3 separate regions of the Homo sapiens genome follow, and all the other regions are linked to region 2. The links are contacts of gene promoters, found by promoter capture Hi-C in human tissues and cell types (Jung and others, 2019). All regions are on one chromosome and are shown on one strand. Each heading gives the region's core, a stretch centred on a gene start or on the middle of the fragment in contact. The rest is flanking DNA. Distances are from core to core; before and after follow the strand shown. Region 1 overlaps CTNNA2 (catenin alpha 2). Region 2 holds the start of LRRTM1 (leucine rich repeat transmembrane neuronal 1). Region 3 overlaps CTNNA2 (catenin alpha 2).

What was found. The method cuts DNA at HindIII sites, captures the fragments that hold promoters and counts their contacts. A contact is called where the count stands out against the background at its distance.
Region 1: a fragment that was not itself captured here is called in contact with the fragment with the promoter of LRRTM1 in region 2 in 4 of the 25 tissues and cell types used here (H1 embryonic stem cells, IMR-90 fibroblasts, heart right ventricle and 1 more).
Region 3: a fragment that was not itself captured here is called in contact with the fragment with the promoter of LRRTM1 in region 2 in 3 of the 25 tissues and cell types used here (H1 embryonic stem cells, heart right ventricle and pancreas).

What each region holds. Positions count from the first base shown.
Region 1 is chr2:80,556,157-80,560,016 of GRCh38, reverse strand. All of the region lies in intron 12 of CTNNA2 (catenin alpha 2), which reads right to left. Among named protein-coding and RNA genes, the nearest start is that of LRRTM1, 250 kb to the right of the region's middle. The HindIII fragment of the contact is 9,339 bases long and covers 1-3,860 here.
Region 2 is chr2:80,301,801-80,306,046 of GRCh38, reverse strand. It overlaps LRRTM1 (leucine rich repeat transmembrane neuronal 1), which reads left to right and starts at 1,295. Exons shown (of 2, transcript NM_178839.5): 1 at 1,295-1,895; 2 at 2,169-4,169. The coding sequence starts at 2,228. The coding sequence ends at 3,796. All of the region lies in intron 7 of CTNNA2 (catenin alpha 2), which reads right to left. RefSeq lists an enhancer at 1,853-2,478. The HindIII fragment of the contact is 15,461 bases long and covers 1-4,246 here.
Region 3 is chr2:80,536,021-80,539,838 of GRCh38, reverse strand. The region is part of intron 9 of CTNNA2 (catenin alpha 2); the gene reads right to left. Among named protein-coding and RNA genes, the nearest start is that of LRRTM1, 230 kb to the right of the region's middle. The HindIII fragment of the contact is 4,505 bases long and covers 89-3,818 here.

The sequences.
Region 1 (3,860 bases), core at 68-2,567, 250 kb before region 2:
ATCTCACAGATCTTTTAACCTAGTCACGCTCACATGGCCACAAACTTGAGTCAGCTATCAAATTTACAAAAATGACATTTCAATATAATCCATTCAGTGAAGAATGAGCTACTGTATGTGTGTGTATATATATATATAAATATGATATCGCTGAATGTGCTTTCACCCCTCCTCAGCCTCCTGCAGCAACCCAACTTTGTAAACGAGATCTATGAAGATGGGTCTGGTCAAGCGTGTACTTACTACTAAGCTGTTTGGCAATTTGTTATAATTCAGGTTTTATTGAAGAGCCCATCAAATATGCCATGTAAGTATTTAATGGGTCTGCTGTAGATCCAATTTATTGTGTTTTCATCAGCCTAGATTGTTTTATAGAAAATGAACAGGTAAATTTGTACATAATGCTACCCTATAATTCTTAGCATACTAATAATCTACAAAATTTTCTTAAATTTAATTCAGCATTCATATCAAGACAAGAAGCACTCTTAAGCAAAGCACTGTCTTTACTAAGGAAAGAAAATAATTCATGGAAAATAAACCACAGATGTGTTATCACTCTTTGGGCACCTCTCAATTTTCCAGCCACTCAGCGAGGGCAGCCAAGTGGTAAAGTGGGAGTCTCCCTACAGTGACCTACCCATGCAGCCATTCATCTGTCTACACAGGGGTTTGCCTGTGTGTAAACACCTTCAGCAGCAACATCCAGTTCAGTCAAGGCTGTTTGATTATTCTGCCCTTTTACAGATTCTTCTTTGTAATATACTCCCAACCCCACTCCCTTTTCACTATGTCCACAGTACATGGGCTCCAATCTGTCCTGTTTGAACTTGTCCCTATTTTGGGTTATTTCTTTACTTTAGGGCAGTAATGCTCAGTGCACATTATTTTGCCCACCAGGACCCACTTCCTTCAAGGATATCTGGCAATGTCTAGAGACATCTTGGTGGTTACAACTTGGCATGTAGAAGAAAGAGATGCTACAAACATTTAGCAGGTGGAGTCCAGGGATGCTTCTAAGCATCCCATAATGGACAAAACAGTCCCCAGAACTCTCCCCAAGAAACAACTGTTCAGACCAAAGTGTCAACAGTACAGAGGTTGAGCATGTCTGACTCAAGGTCTTGAATCTAATGGCACAGAATTTTTTAAAAATAAAATATCAAACAAAAAAATCAATGGGCAGAACCTAGTAGGTGTGGCAACAACAACAACAACAAAAACCATGACATTTTGTCTTCTTTCTCCTCATCTTTCCTCTTGGCATTTTTCCCTTTTTTCCCACTACCACCCTCTCTCACCCTACAATGTACTCTCATGACAAAATTTGATAGATTCACATAGAAAAGTGGCCAATTCAACATGGCTCTAAAATTGTTTAAGTCAGAAACAAAACTAAGCAAAAGGTAGATAATTTGGCATCAGGGACATGCACAGGGTTTCTATTTTGAGGACATATATCTTATGTCTCCTTAGCACAGACATACAATGACATTAGAAGTAAATCACTTTAGACAACATATATATATACACACACACACACACACACACATATATACACACACACACACACCAACAAAACTTTGTACAACCATAATTACAGAACTGATCCTGTGGTCATCCTCAAACTCCACGTGTCTACTTTATGCAAGCACATTCCCCAGCAATTCTCATTAGCAGTCAGTGAGTTAATAGCTGAAGTTTTTTTCTTTCATTTCTTTGGCAACCTCTCTAGTTATTCACAAAATAGTAACATTATTCCTGTTTCAGAAAGAGAAGAACAATTGGGGACAAATACCAAAGAAATTGTATACCTTTGTATTCTAGCTCTTAGTCCACTGACACCCACTTTTCCTTGACACTTATTCCTATATTTTCAATTAAAGTTATATATAAGCTGTCTATTTCAGTCTCTGCCTGGTTACTTTCCTAGTTAACTTCAATAAATCCTGAAAAGTAGAATTTAAATGTCCTGCTCATCTACCGTATTCAATTAGGAATTGGATATGGGCATCAAAATAAGAAAGGTGCCTTTAGTTAAGCCCCCAGAGTGCTCAATCATTGCAAGCCAGGATAAAAATTGTAAAAACTCAGAACAAGTAAGAGCAAAAATCTTGATTAGCAACAACAATCCAGGATGAACGACTATTTGTTTTTTTAAAAGTAGAAAAATCAACCAGAACATTATTTACATATCAAGACTTTGGGTGAAAATTATGTTAAAATATTACAATCAACTAAGCAATTGTCCTTGCCTTTAGATTTTGACCTAGTAAGTGGCACTCCTGTTGTCAAAGCAGTCCAAGATACAATAAGAAAAAGTTCTAAAATGTCATTTGAACAGTGCCTGAGTTATCTGTGGGTAGAAAGTCACATGAAAATTGGCAATATGCTCTGTATCTTTCATCTGCCACAAGTGTCCTTCCCACCAGTCATGAGTGGGCAGGAACTGAGTCCTGTCTCTAGGTCTTCAACACTTCTCTGGTATTATTTATCTAGTGACAGACCCAGGTGAGTGTTACTCTGTCAGATATCTCACATGAAGCTGAGACTTTGTACAAGAATAGAGCTGATGGGCTGGGAACTGTAAGCCACAGAAATGTGAGATGGTCTCCCTAAAGGTTACTAATGAAAAAGTCCTTAATTTGGAGAATTAGGGAAAAAAATACCTTTTTATAACTCTTCCAAGTGAGGAAAGAAATACTGTATGGCTTGCTTTGTGTTGCTCAATTGAATGCAAAGGGCAAGCTTATGTGAAAGAAAGCAGTGCTGACTCTCAGCTAATTCAAATGCAGTCATATCTTGTCATTATTTTTGTTATTATGTCTAAGTCTAAGTCTGTAAGGATGTTCCAAGGGCAACAGTCTCTAGATGTGCTCTTTATAACATGATACCACACTATTCTGTTTCTGCTTATATTTTAAAGAGAATGACCAATACCTGTGTTTATGTATTGTGTTTTACTTGCTATTCCAGGCTAACAAATACCTACAGAACTCTTTGTAAATAATCTTTTCCCCATAAAAAGCAACATATTTCTACCAACACATCTCATCATGCAGAACTTGGAACATGGCTATATCTGACCTTTCAGAGATGGCTATTTTAAAAATGCCTGGTGGCATCCAAAGCTCATAGGCAAACCTATGAAGGTCCCCCTTAGGGTTTGAGGGGAGAGGCCCTTCTGTGCATATATATGCACCAATTCATTATTCATTAACAACCTTATCCAATGTGGACTTACATTCTCTTTTTCTATTCCCTAGTTTCCTCTCATTCCTTGGACTATATATCTTATCTCATATATATAAATCAAGGCCTGAGGAAGCCAAAAGACATTGGTCAAGAGGGGAGAACTACTAAAAACAGGCCAGTCTTATATATTCTCCAGAGTTGTAGATTGTTCTAATTCAGTGGAAGCATTTTTTTTTACCCCAATGCATCTGCAAGCTCTGACAAGCTCCCATAAGTAACCATACCTGACCATAGCAGTGAGTCCTGTGAGCAGCCACATGCCCCTGAAGAAGGGCATGTAAAGCTTTCCTAGAAAGAAAGGGAATATGCTGAAAGCCTAACTCTTTGTCAGCAGCCACCACCTTTCTTTGAGCACGTCATATCCACTCACTATCTAAAACCTTTATGCTTTCCACTGGCTGGTTCAGAGTTCTTCCTTAAGGTCCTATCCTCTCAAGCAATAAATGAAGAAAAGGTTAAATTACAGATTCCAAGTTCTTATCACATCTGCACTATTTTCTAACCTTGTGACCTCATTCCAGTCTCTTAGCCAATTCAAACCATAATTTTCTCAAGTCATAAAATTATCTCATCCATAATTGGAGATAATTAAGTAAGCAGAAAAA
Region 2 (4,246 bases), core at 46-2,545:
GATGCTAAGGACCAATCCAGTTACTTGTCCAGTCTATCTACCCTGGCTCTGGTAATCCACCCTCATTCCTATCAAAGTAAGTGCCACTACATATAATGCCTACTGATTTTGACTTCCTTAGAGGCAGAAACGATGGGAATTCAAACAGTGGAGCTGGAGACTCACATTTGACTCTCCCTACCATCTCCCTGGGCATCTTTGTCAAGAAGGAAGGCTTGCCCACACTCACTTCCCGCAGGCTTTCTCAGCCATCTTGGAGGACTTTGTTTAAACAGATGACCAACTGACCCTCCCCAGGGCAGACCCTCTACAGACCAGTAGGCACAAGGTGTGTGTGTGGGGAGGTGGGGGGAGAGCTCATTGTAAGGACTCCTATCTATAAATGATTATGAATAGAAATAATGAGGCAAAGGCTTCTCGTCATACTCAGAGGAAAAAGTGGCACAACTTAGTGCAGTCTCAAAGATTAATTAGGATGTGTGTATGGAGACGGGTAGGCTTCATTATGGCTTAAACTATCACGTCCCTACACATTCACACTCTCTTGGAGTGGGGTGCACTGCAGGGCCCAGTAATCACCATGAACAGCACAAGTCAGGGTAAGCCCTCCCCATGTCAGACAGTACAATCGTTCTTTAATCCACTCTGTACCCCATATGTATCTGTGGAGCCTGATGAAGCCCCGGAGGGATCTCAGTCAAGTCTCCCTGCACACAGACATACCTTTTTGCCACACTGGATCTCACACCACCGGGACTTGGATGGCTTCCCAAACTAGGTGGGTTTGGAAAGCATTTCCCCTCTCCACCTCAAAAAAGGGCTGGCTGACTGCAGAATTCCAGTACCCGCAAGAGGGGGAAAAAACCCCAAAAATCTTAGCCAAGCCCCAAATCATTGCCTTCCTGTGTCTTCTCTCAAGTTGCTTTTCTAAAGCAAAGGTCCAAACGTTGATTTCTCTACAGATTCCTACGTATCTCTTACACGTAGACAGTTTTAAAGGGGAAAAGAATATATCCCCAAAAGGCAAGGGGGAGAGCACAGAACATTTCAGTTTCCCACTTGGAAATATCTTGTCGTGGATGATGCTACCCCTACCTCCACCTCCCTCCCCCCTCCTTTTTTTTTTTTTTTTTTTTTTTGAAATATGGACAAAAAAGCTGAAAGTGTTTTCCGTTTCATCAAAAAACATATATTACTTTAGTGGTTCGGTAAAATGTTGGTTTTATGCCCACCCCTTTTCAATCTGCCCATGTCTGAGGTGCTCGGGGAAGACGCACAATCGTGAGCAGCTTACGACACTCAGTGAGCAGTAGGTGCCTGTGCAAGCTCGCGCCGCACACTGCCTGGTGGAGGGAAGGAGCCCGGGCGCCGCTCGCCGCTCCCCGCGCCGCCGTCCGCACCTCCCCACCGCCCGCCGCCCGCCGCCCGCCGCCCGCAAAGCATGAGTGAGCCCGCTCTCTGCAGCTGCCCGGGGCGCGAATGGCAGGCTGTTTCCGCGGAGTAAAAGGTGGCGCCGGTCAGTGGTCGTTTCCAATGACGGACATTAACCAGACTGTCAGATCCTGGGGAGTCGCGAGCCCCGAGTTTGGAGTTTTTTCCCCCCACAACGTCACAGTCCGAACTGCAGAGGGAAAGGAAGGCGGCAGGAAGGCGAAGCTCGGGCTCCGGCACGTAGTTGGGAAACTTGCGGGTCCTAGAAGTCGCCTCCCCGCCTTGCCGGCCGCCCTTGCAGCCCCGAGCCGAGCAGCAAAGTGAGACATTGTGCGCCTGCCAGATCCGCCGGCCGCGGACCGGGGCTGCCTCGGAAACACAGAGGGGTCTTCTCTCGCCCTGCATATAATTAGCCTGCACACAAAGGGAGCAGCTGAATGGAGGTTGTCACTCTCTGGAAAAGGGTGGGTAAGACACTTTTTAATTAAATTCTTTCCCGAAGATTTTTTTTTTCCTCCCTTTTCTTTGCTGCAGCATCTAACATGGACCAAATCACCATCTCTTTGATCTTTCCGTGGCTGTGAACTTTCTATGCTGCCCAGCTTTCTGCATGCTTAGAGGTGAACGTGTGGTTTTTGGGGAGGGGGGTCCTTCTTTATTTCTATGTATTTATTTGATTTTTTGCCCTTTTCTCCCCCTCCCCCGCTTCCCCTCCCTCGGAATAAAATATGATGTAGATTTCTGACCGAGCGCTTCCAATGGACATTCTCCAGTCTCTCTGGAAAGATTCTCGCTAATGGATTTCCTGCTGCTCGGTCTCTGTCTATACTGGCTGCTGAGGAGGCCCTCGGGGGTGGTCTTGTGTCTGCTGGGGGCCTGCTTTCAGATGCTGCCCGCCGCCCCCAGCGGGTGCCCGCAGCTGTGCCGGTGCGAGGGGCGGCTGCTGTACTGCGAGGCGCTCAACCTCACCGAGGCGCCCCACAACCTGTCCGGCCTGCTGGGCTTGTCCCTGCGCTACAACAGCCTCTCGGAGCTGCGCGCCGGCCAGTTCACGGGGTTAATGCAGCTCACGTGGCTCTATCTGGATCACAATCACATCTGCTCCGTGCAGGGGGACGCCTTTCAGAAACTGCGCCGAGTTAAGGAACTCACGCTGAGTTCCAACCAGATCACCCAACTGCCCAACACCACCTTCCGGCCCATGCCCAACCTGCGCAGCGTGGACCTCTCGTACAACAAGCTGCAGGCGCTCGCGCCCGACCTCTTCCACGGGCTGCGGAAGCTCACCACGCTGCATATGCGGGCCAACGCCATCCAGTTTGTGCCCGTGCGCATCTTCCAGGACTGCCGCAGCCTCAAGTTTCTCGACATCGGATACAATCAGCTCAAGAGTCTGGCGCGCAACTCTTTCGCCGGCTTGTTTAAGCTCACCGAGCTGCACCTCGAGCACAACGACTTGGTCAAGGTGAACTTCGCCCACTTCCCGCGCCTCATCTCCCTGCACTCGCTCTGCCTGCGGAGGAACAAGGTGGCCATTGTGGTCAGCTCGCTGGACTGGGTTTGGAACCTGGAGAAAATGGACTTGTCGGGCAACGAGATCGAGTACATGGAGCCCCATGTGTTCGAGACCGTGCCGCACCTGCAGTCCCTGCAGCTGGACTCCAACCGCCTCACCTACATCGAGCCCCGGATCCTCAACTCTTGGAAGTCCCTGACAAGCATCACCCTGGCCGGGAACCTGTGGGATTGCGGGCGCAACGTGTGTGCCCTAGCCTCGTGGCTCAACAACTTCCAGGGGCGCTACGATGGCAACTTGCAGTGCGCCAGCCCGGAGTACGCACAGGGCGAGGACGTCCTGGACGCCGTGTACGCCTTCCACCTGTGCGAGGATGGGGCCGAGCCCACCAGCGGCCACCTGCTCTCGGCCGTCACCAACCGCAGTGATCTGGGGCCCCCTGCCAGCTCGGCCACCACGCTCGCGGACGGCGGGGAGGGGCAGCACGACGGCACATTCGAGCCTGCCACCGTGGCTCTTCCAGGCGGCGAGCACGCCGAGAACGCCGTGCAGATCCACAAGGTGGTCACGGGCACCATGGCCCTCATCTTCTCCTTCCTCATCGTGGTCCTGGTGCTCTACGTGTCCTGGAAGTGTTTCCCAGCCAGCCTCAGGCAGCTCAGACAGTGCTTTGTCACGCAGCGCAGGAAGCAAAAGCAGAAACAGACCATGCATCAGATGGCTGCCATGTCTGCCCAGGAATACTACGTTGATTACAAACCGAACCACATTGAGGGAGCCCTGGTGATCATCAACGAGTATGGCTCGTGTACCTGCCACCAGCAGCCCGCGAGGGAATGCGAGGTGTGATTGTCCCAGTGGCTCTCAACCCATGCGCTACCAAATACGCCTGGGCAGCCGGGACGGGCCGGCGGGCACCAGGCTGGGGTCTCCTTGTCTGTGCTCTGATATGCTCCTTGACTGAAACTTTAAGGGGATCTCTCCCAGAGACTTGACATTTTAGCTTTATTGTGTCTTAAAAACAAAAGCGAATTAAAACACAACAAAAAACCCCACCCCACAACCTTCAGGACAGTCTATCTTAAATTTCATATGAGAACTCCTTCCTCCCTTTGAAGATCTGTCCATATTCAGGAATCTGAGAGTGTAAAAAAGGTACCAATCATTGATTTTTTTTTTTTTTGTAAACTAAAATGTTTAAAATAAAATAGCATTTACAGTTTTTACAGACTGGTGTAACCTAAATGAATTGTTACCTGTGTTACAAGAAAAGCAACAGTTAAAATTTCCTTGGTGGGT
Region 3 (3,818 bases), core at 1,092-3,591, 230 kb before region 2:
GATTGATCTGGGATTTCTGAAAGTGGAATAGGTCATGACTATAGGTGGTAGAGCTCGTTGGTGATCTAATTGTACTAAATACCTACCAATCTGTTAGAAAGGAAAGCTCTCCTTCTTAACTTCTGAGAGCATAATGGATCTGGGGAAGTAAAAGCTGAGAAGACTAGGCCAGTCTTTCTCTGACTTAGTACCTTAAAACCAGTTATCTTGAGGGAAAGGAGGAAGCTTAGCAGCCATCATTAAATTGTGTGCTGCTGACCCCAAAAACTTTAGGATTACAGAAAAAGAAGAGACCAGTGCTGCTAAGTGGAATCAGTAAACATATCATGGAGAGGTAAACTATCCATCCTGCAAGATTTATTTTACGATTGCCTGTTTAGCACTACTTTCTAGATGCTCAATGAATATAACTTTTTTTTTTTTTTTGGCTCTTCTGGGCACACTTTGTAAGTACATGAATACTTAACATTAACAATATCATTAGCAGAACTAGAAAGAACAACAACAACAACAACAAAAAAAAAAAAGCAAGGAGAGCCTATGCCTATTTTTTGAAGAAAGTAACTTAACTCCATTAATTGAATTTGTATTACAATTGGCATCTATCCTGTAACTCTTTAATAATCACCTCAGGAAGCCAAAAGCAGAGTGACAATATTCCTGATAAGACAGTTAAAAATTGACAAAAATAACTCAGGAGGCTGAGGTACAAGAATTGCTTGAACTGAGGAGGTGGAGGTTACAGTGAGCCGAGATCGCTCCACTCCACTCTGGTCTGGGCAACAGAGTGAAACTGCATCTCAAAAAACAAACATATGCATCCCTCATAAAAATACATTGTGACCCAATCGCTACAAAGATAATAAAATAATACCTAGGAATACAATTTTCAAGGGATGTGAAGGACTTCTTCAAGGAGAACTACAAACCACTGCTCAAGGAAATAAGAGAGAACACAAACAAATGGAAAAACAGTCCATGCTCGTGGACAGGAAGAATCAGTATCGTGAAAATTGCCATACTGCCCAAAGTAACTTATAGATTCAATGCTATTCCCATTAAGCTACCATTCACTTTCTTTGCAGAATTAGAAAAAACTACTTTAAATTTCATGTGGAAACAAAAAAGAGCCTGTATAGCCAAGACAATCCTAAGCAAAAAGAACAAAGCTGGAGGCATCAGGCTACCTGACTTCAAACTGTACTACAAGGTTACAGTAACCAAAACAGCATGGTGCTGGTACCAAAACACACATATAGACCAATGGAACAGAACAGAGACCTCAGAAATAACACCACATGCCTATAACCATCTGATCTTTGACAAACCTGACAAAAACATGCAATGGGGAAAGGATTCCCCATTTAATAAATGGTGCTGGGAAAATTGGCTAGTCATATGCAGAAAACAGAAACTGGACCCCTTCCTTACACCTTATACAAAAATTAACTCAAGATGGATTAAAGACTTAAATGTAAAACCCAAAACCATAAAAACCCTAGAAGAAAACCTAGGCAATACCATTCAGGACATAGGCATGGGCAAAGGCTTCACGACTAAAAAACAGCAAAAGCAATAGTAACAAAAGCCAAAATTGACAAATTGGATCTAATCAAACTAAAGAGCTTCTGCACAACAAAATAAACTAGCATCAGAGTGAACAGGCAACCTAAAGAATGAGAGAAAATTTTTGCAATCTACCCATCTGACAAAGATCTAATTTCCAGAATCTACAAGGAACTTAAATTTACAAGAAAAAAACAACCCTATCAAAAAGTGGGCAAGGGATATGAACAGAGACTTCTCAAAAGATGACATTTATGCGGCCAACAAACATATGAAAAAAAGCTCATCATCACTGGTCATTAGAGAAATGCAAATTAAAACCACAGTGAGATATCATCTTATGCCAGTTAGAATGGCGATCATTAAAAAGTCAGGAAACAGGGCGGGTGTGGTGGCTCATGCTTGTAATCCCAGCACTTTGGGAGGCCGAGTTGAGTGGATTATCTGAGGTCGGGAGTTCGAGAACAGCCTGACCAACATGGAGAAACCCCACCTCTACTAAAAATACTAAATTAGCCAGGTGTGGTGGCACATGCCTGTAATCCCAGCTACTCAGGAGGCTGAGGCAGGAGAGTTGCTTGAAACCAGCAGGCAGAGGTTGCAGTGAGCTGAGATCATGCCATTGCACTCCAGCCTGGGCAACAAAAGTAAAACCCCGTTTCAAAAAAAAAAAAAAGTCAGGAAACAACAGATGCTTGCGAGGCTGTGGAGAAAAGGAACGCTTTTACACTGTTGGTGGGAGTGTAATTAGTTCAACCATTGTGGAAGACAGTGTGGCTATTCCTCAAGGATCTAGAACCAGAAATATCATTTGACTCAGCAATTCCATTACTGGGTATATACCCAAAGGATTATAAATCATTCTACTATAAAGACACATGCACACATATGTTTAATGCAGCACTATTTACAATAGCAAAGGCATAGTACCAACCAAATGTCCATCAATTATAGACTTGATAAGGAAAATATGGCACATATACACCACAGAATACTATGCAGCCATAAAAAAGAATGGGTTCATGTTCTTTTCAGGGACATGGATGAAGCTGAAAGCCATCATTCTCAGCAAACTAACACAGGAACAGAAAACCAAACACTGCATGTTCTCACTCATAAGTGGGAGTTGAACAATGACAACACATGGACACAGGGAGGGGGAACAACACACACTGGGGCCTGTCAGGGGGTGGGATGCAAGGGGAGGGAAAGCATTAGGACAAATACCTAATGCATGTGGGGCTTAAAACCTAGATGATGGGTTGATGGGTGCAGCAAACCACCATGGCACATGTATACCTATGTAACAAGCCTGCACATTCTGCACACGTATCCCAGAAGTTAAAGTAAAATGTATAGTGACCATTTAAAAAGGCAAGATGTTTTTTAATCACACAAAGAAAACCCCACACAGCTCACAGATCTTGATAAACTACATCGTGGCTGTACAATTCAGTTTTGTGTGGACACCGCCACAGAAAAGCAGCTCTGTCTCAAAAGAGCCACAGTCTTGTTTGAACACTCACAAGAAAAGCCAAAATGCCTGGAAGGCTGAGCTTCAATTAGACATTAAAAACCTCTGCTAATAAAGTATTTAGGCATTTAACTCCAACGTGATATGAAGTACATCAGAAAAATGAGAACATTTTCCCTTTTTCTGGCCTCGGAAATCAAATTACATTTTTTAATATTTGTGATTCTGTTCTGTTTGAAACACCAGCAAATATTCACTGCATTCAACTCCCAAACACTGAATCATTTCATTAATTTTTACAGCTTCAGGTATCATATTGGTGTTTTAAGAACACACTATTGAAATAAAGCAGAATAGCAATTCGAAGGTCCATAAAGCACTTGCTCCTCATGTTAATATTTCATCATCACTGTAAATTTGAGAATAAAATGAATTTATTTAAATAAATTCAAGGGGAATTACTTGAATTTATAGTCAGTCATGTGGCCATATAAAACCACAGAGAGGATGGTGGCACAGATTTCACGCAAAACATTTTTCTCTAAAACTATCATCACAATGAAAAGTGCTGCGGTCTCCATCTGAAGGTTTATTCATTTATCTGTGCTGATGTAATTAGTACACACGAAGATGTTAACATATATGCCTATCTTCTAGAGAACCACAAGGTTCCTACAGAACATGACTCCTATAATACAGATGGAGTTTCACAATTCAATAACAGTGGAAATGATAAACCTCCCTGAAACCTTTGAGAGGCAAGACAGAAGCAGCTGGT